Regions from separate parts of the Homo sapiens genome. Here region 1 is linked to region 2. The links are contacts of gene promoters, found by promoter capture Hi-C in blood cells and fetal thymus (Javierre and others, 2016). All regions are on one chromosome and are shown on one strand. Each heading gives the region's core, a stretch centred on a gene start or on the middle of the fragment in contact. The rest is flanking DNA. Distances are from core to core; before and after follow the strand shown.

Region 1 (2,793 bases), core at 45-2,544, 260 kb before region 2:
TAGTGTATCTTTTTTCGTTCTTTATTTTTAACCTATTTGTGTGTTTAAAGTATGTTTCTTATATACTGTGTATAGAAGGTTACTATTTTTACAAGAACTATTCAATCTCTACCTTTTAATTGGAGTGCTTTTACTATTTACTTTTTTTTTTTTTTTTTTGAGACAGTCTTGCTCTGTCAGGCTGGAGCACAGTGGTGTGATCTTGACTCACTGCAACCTCTGCCTCCCAGGTTCAAGCAATTCTCCTGCCTCAGCCTCCCGAGTAGCTGAGATTACAGACATGCACCACCACACCAGCTAATTTTCATATTTTTAGTAGAGATGGGGTTTCGCCAGGTTGTCCAGGCTGGTCTCGAATTCCTGGCCTCAAGCAATCCACCTGCCTCAGCCTCCCAAAGTGCTGGGTTTACAGGTGTGAGCCACCACGCCTAGCCTTTTTACTATTTACATTTAATGTAATTATGGACATATCAGTTTAATGTCTTGACATTGTGAAAACCAGTTGTGACAAACTAAAGATTGTCTCATCTGTTCCTTTTCTAGATCAAGTATTTTTCTTTTTTTAATTTATAAATGGAAAGCTTATATCAAAGTATTTTTAATTCTAACTCTACGATTGACTTAATAGCTATACCATTTCCTTTCTTTTAGTGGCTGTTCTAGGGCTTACAATATACATTTGAAGTTTTCACAGTCTACCTTCAATAACATCACACTATTTCACGTGTAATTCAAGACCTGAAAGCAGATTACTTCCACTTCTCCATATCTGTCTTTTGTGCTCTCATGCCATACATTTTGCCTTTGTATGTTATAAATCTCAGAACGTATAATCATTGTTTTAAACAGCCAGTTATCTTTTAAAGAAATAAAAAGATGACTTTTGAAAATGCTTTTATATTTGCCCACATATTTACCAGTTCTTAAACTCTACATTAGATATGACTATCCATTGGATGTCATTTTCTTTCAATCTTTTGCCTTTTAAAAATATCCTTCCTTGGAACCTTTTTTTTTTTTTTTTTACATAAGGCTATGTTGTTCTCAACATTTTTTAGTGTTGAAATAAAATCCAAATAATCAGAGAGCTCCTGGAATATATGATGTGATCAGAAGATGGAGCAGTAATTTAAAACTGATTTTAGGCTCTGTGTGACCCAACATTGTTGAAGGGCTGCCAAAAAGCAAGTTCTATCTCAGACTTTATTAACAGGACAATAAGTCTCAGGATATAAACAATAATGTTGTGCTCCAATTTCACTGATGACATGGAACGTTGTGTTCAGTTCTAGGTTCCACATTTCAAGGTGATTGACACATCTGAAGTATGTTCACAGATGACCGAGCAGGATCATGTAGGATCTAGAAATGGTGTCAGGGTGGGGCTGTCAGAGGAAGTGGATTTCAAATATTTGAAGGGCCGCTAGGTCAAAAGGCATCATACCTATTGAGAGTCGCTGCAGTGGTCAGAACAGAGCTAATGGGCAGAATTTGCAAGTAGACAAAATTTGATTCAGTTTGGCTCAGCACTGTGCAAAAAGGAAAGGAGCTATTTTTGATAGTGAGTTTCCATCGCAGGAGGTGTTCAAGCAGAAGCTGTCAGGAAGCAAAAATGCCCTGCCTAGTAGGGAGGAGAGAGAAGAGTCATGTATTGGACATAAGGATGAATTAGTTTACATCCAAGCACCTTTTCCAAATCTGATTCCATCCCTCCTTAATTTCTCTGTTAGTTCCTGCCTTTCTTCCTTTTGTCAGTGTTATTTTCCTGCCTATACACATTCCTATTTTCATCTTTAGGCAGCCCATCCCTTCCCTGCCATGTCCTTTCTAGTATGTTTTTCCTTGACAAGTCAGGATGATCTTGGGACTTGTACTTAATTACAAAGACTCCTTACATCATCAGTTTCTCCAAAGAACCACTTTCCTGTTGTAACTAAAGTGTGACCATCCCTTAGTATATTGTCTAAGCCAAGATTCCCTACAGAGTAGAGGCTTGGACAAAGCTTACATGCCAAGACTAGGGAAATATTGTGGAAAGAAGGTGTATATAAACCAGGCTCCATACAGAAGGCTGGGCTCCTTGTATTCCATGGCCTTACTTTATTCTCATTTTTCTCCAGTTTTGCTTACTCAACTTTAGAATATAGTTTTCTCAAAATAAGATTTCAAGGCAGTGATCATGGCTTGGGGCACTTTGTTTCCTATTTTTTTTAATTTTTTTTTTAGATGAAGTCTTGCTCTGTCACTCAGGCAGGAGTGCAGTGGTGCAATCTTGGCTCATTGCAACCTCCGCTTCCCGGGCTCAAGCAATTCTCCTGCCTCAGCCTTCCGAGTAGCTGGGATTACAGGCGCCCACCATCACGACTGGCTAATTTTTGTATTTTTAGTAGAGACAGGGTTTCACCATGTTGGTCAGGCTGGTCTCAAACTCCTGACCTCAGGTGATTTGCCCACCTCATCCTCCCAAAGTGTTGGGATTACAGGCGTGAGCCACCACGCCTGGCCAGTTTCCTACTTTTAGACGTGTTTTCCTAGTCAGCTGTGCTCACTCATCCTCAGTCCCTAAGTCTGATGGTGGCCTGTGCCCACAGCAATGAGTGTAGACTCACTGGACCCATGCTTTCAAAGGCAGCTCCCTCCACCTCTTGGGGGTGGTTTCCCTTGTGAAAGGAAAATATCTTGGGGCCCCAATACCACTGAGCTAAAGGGAAGAGTCAAGCTGGAAACTGCTTAGGGCAAATTTGTTTCCCATTCTATTCAAAGTCACCCCTCTGCTCACTGAGATAAATACAT
Region 2 (2,700 bases), core at 92-2,591:
CTGGTCTTGAACTCCTGACCTCAGGTGATCCACCTGCCTCAGCCTCCCAAAGTGCTGGGATTACGGGTGTGAGCCACGGCTCCCGGCCTTTAATACACACTTTAACAACCAGCTGACTGGGAGGGAAAAGTAAAGCGAGAGAAAGTTGAAAAATAAACTGTACATATTAATGTAAATGCATGTGAAAGTGTAAAATGCTGCCTCTTTCACAAAGGAAAATCTCACTGGAACTTAGTAATGATGCTGTTATGACCCACGTAAAACCCAAAGATAATTCAAAGTTACAAAAATGTAGAAAGAAAGATCTGGAGACTTAACGCACACCCACGGTGAATGTGGTCTATGAGTGTAAGCTCTGGATACCCCGATCCAACCAGATGCTGCAGTGGCCCGGAGAACATCATAAATATGAAGAAAGTGTATCCATGCCGGGGCTTCCATTTGTTTTTATAAGGCAATAAACATCATAAAGCCTAGCCGGGTGTGGTAGTGGGCACCTGTAATCCCAGCTACTCGGGCTGGAGGCTCCAGCTGGGGCTGGAGAATCGCTTGAACCCAGGAGGCAGAAGTTTCAGTGAGCTGAGATCGCACCACTGCACTCCAGCCTGGGCAACAAAGTGAGACTCTGTCTCAAAAAAAAAAAAAAAAAAAAAGAGGAAAAAAAAAAGTGCACGATTTCCATGCCTGCTTTAGACAGTGGCCCTCAAGTGTGGCTACACATTAGAATCCCCTAAGGAGTCTTAAGAAATCTTGATGTTTACACTGCACTATGGACCAAGGACATCAGAATCCCTGGGGTGGGACTGAGGCTGGCATTGGTCTTTTGTTACCGCTCCCCAGGGGACGGGGAATTCCAGTATTCATCAAGGTTGAGGATAACTGCATTGGAGGAAAGAAGCAGCTAACTACCTGGATCCTTAATTCCTATCTCTTCTTTTCCCAGGAGCCAACAGGAAAAAATGCACCAGGAGGGAAAGACAGGAAAGGAGGGACAAGAGAGGAAGGGGGGCTCCACACATCTGCAGCAGGAAAGGCTCGGATTGCACCACCCACCCCTGCCTGCTGCACACGAGGCTGGGAGCTACCTTGGACTTTGTGGTCGTGGTCATCCTGCAGGATTGTGATGGCAACTGTGTGGTTATTTTCCATCTCTAGGAGAGCAGCATCATGGCTGGCGGTGAGATCTTCCACCTGGAGGAGAGTCGCAGTTACTGGTTAGACAGAGAGCTGCTTGGAGAACAGAAGTGGAATTCCGTGAGTGGAAAAGGTCCGTGACCCAAAACATCAATGACAAGTCACAGCCTTGTGCCGAAGCAGGAGAGCTGGACTTTGGTGGTGATGTGGCAGCCCTCGGAATCACGGGGAGGTCACTGCCACAACCTGGCTCTTTGTAGGGGGGTCCAACTCCAGGCAGGGGATCACTGCCTGAGGTACCTCTTTAGAGTCCTGAGTGTGGCTCCTGGACCATCCCCTTCCCACTGCTTGTCCACGCGCTTGCACCGCTATGAGCGATGACGGCAAAGGAAAAGAAAAGCGTCCTCCCTACGAGGTGGTCTGTTTCCCAGTGGCAGGGGGAGCTACGGTACACAAGGTAAGTGGAGGGAACGAATACTTATTAGGCTGTCCGAGATAGGCTACTCTACTTAACCCTCAGAGCCACCTTATGAAGTATATCTTTTTATGCCCAATTGACAGATGTGGAAACTGAGGCTAAGAGAAATATGAAACGTTTTGCCCAAGGGCTAATAAATGGCAGAGCTAACAGTGAGACCCAGGTCTGTCTGACTCCAAAGGCGAGGCTCTTTCTAATGCACTGTTGTTTTGTGTTCACCTCCCCCAAGCAAGACTAGCAACGAACACCTTAGGATTCTCTCGCCAATACCAGGTGAGGCTGGCAGGTCTGTGTGTCTGTTTTTAAACATAAGGTTGCCCACCAGATTATAACTTGGACCTTCTGCTCAGGCAATGTGGTGCTCCTGGGAAGGGCTGCTGCCTCCCAGCTGCAGGAACACGTCTAGCAGTTTAATCGCAAGTAGTGCAGCCAGTCCAGTCCAGGATTCTTCATTTTCATGTTTCCTGACCCCCTCCCCTACCCCTCACCTGCCTGCCTACCAGGTTTACTGTTTTTGTTATTGTCATTGTGGCTGTTGTTTTAACTTCAAATGTATGACTTGCAGGAGTAATTGTCTAAAACGACCTCTCCCTATGATTGCAAATCTCTCCTGGATGCACTACAACGGTGTTTATCCAAATTCTCTGTCAGTGATCCACTGTAAAAATCACCATTGTACACAATATCACAGTGCACACACCCACACACAACCATACCCAAAACCAAAGTTTCACAAAAACAAAACTTCCCCTTCCATTTGGAAAAATCTGGTTTAAAAATGTTTCCTCTATTTTACTTTGTTTTACAAAACGCTAGTTAGAGGCCACTACATTTATTTCACAAGCTAATAATGCATCAAAACTTGGCATTTGAAAACCACTGAACTAGAAAATGTGCACTGGTCTTGAAGCTCCTTGGTGGCCCAGTTAAGAAGACATTGCTTCTAGCTGGTCATATTCAGCCACCTCTGGGCTCCCACATTTCTCTGGGGGAGAATTCACAGGCTAACCTTTGATCTGAATGGAGAAAGGGCTCTCCCCAAGAAAGGAAGCCTGACTGTGAAGTTGACACGTGAGGATATATTTGTT

Evidence for each region. The method cuts DNA at HindIII sites, captures the fragments that hold promoters and counts their contacts. A CHiCAGO score of 5 or more calls a contact.
Region 1: a fragment that was not itself captured here is called in contact with the fragment with the promoter of MTUS2-AS1 in region 2 in 2 of 17 cell types (endothelial precursors and megakaryocytes); the score reaches 5.5 in endothelial precursors.

The regions. Positions count from the first base shown.
Region 1 is chr13:29,750,907-29,753,699 of GRCh38, reverse strand. No RefSeq gene overlaps it. Among named protein-coding and RNA genes, the nearest start is that of UBL3, 98 kb to the left of the region's middle. The HindIII fragment of the contact is 1,422 bases long and covers 584-2,005 here.
Region 2 is chr13:29,486,391-29,489,090 of GRCh38, reverse strand. It overlaps MTUS2-AS1 (MTUS2 antisense RNA 1), which reads left to right and starts at 1,341. Exons shown (of 3, transcript NR_046378.1): 1 at 1,341-1,591. It overlaps MTUS2 (microtubule associated scaffold protein 2), which reads right to left. Exons shown (of 16, transcript NM_001033602.4): 11 at 1,086-1,191. The HindIII fragment of the contact is 24,751 bases long and covers 1-2,700 here.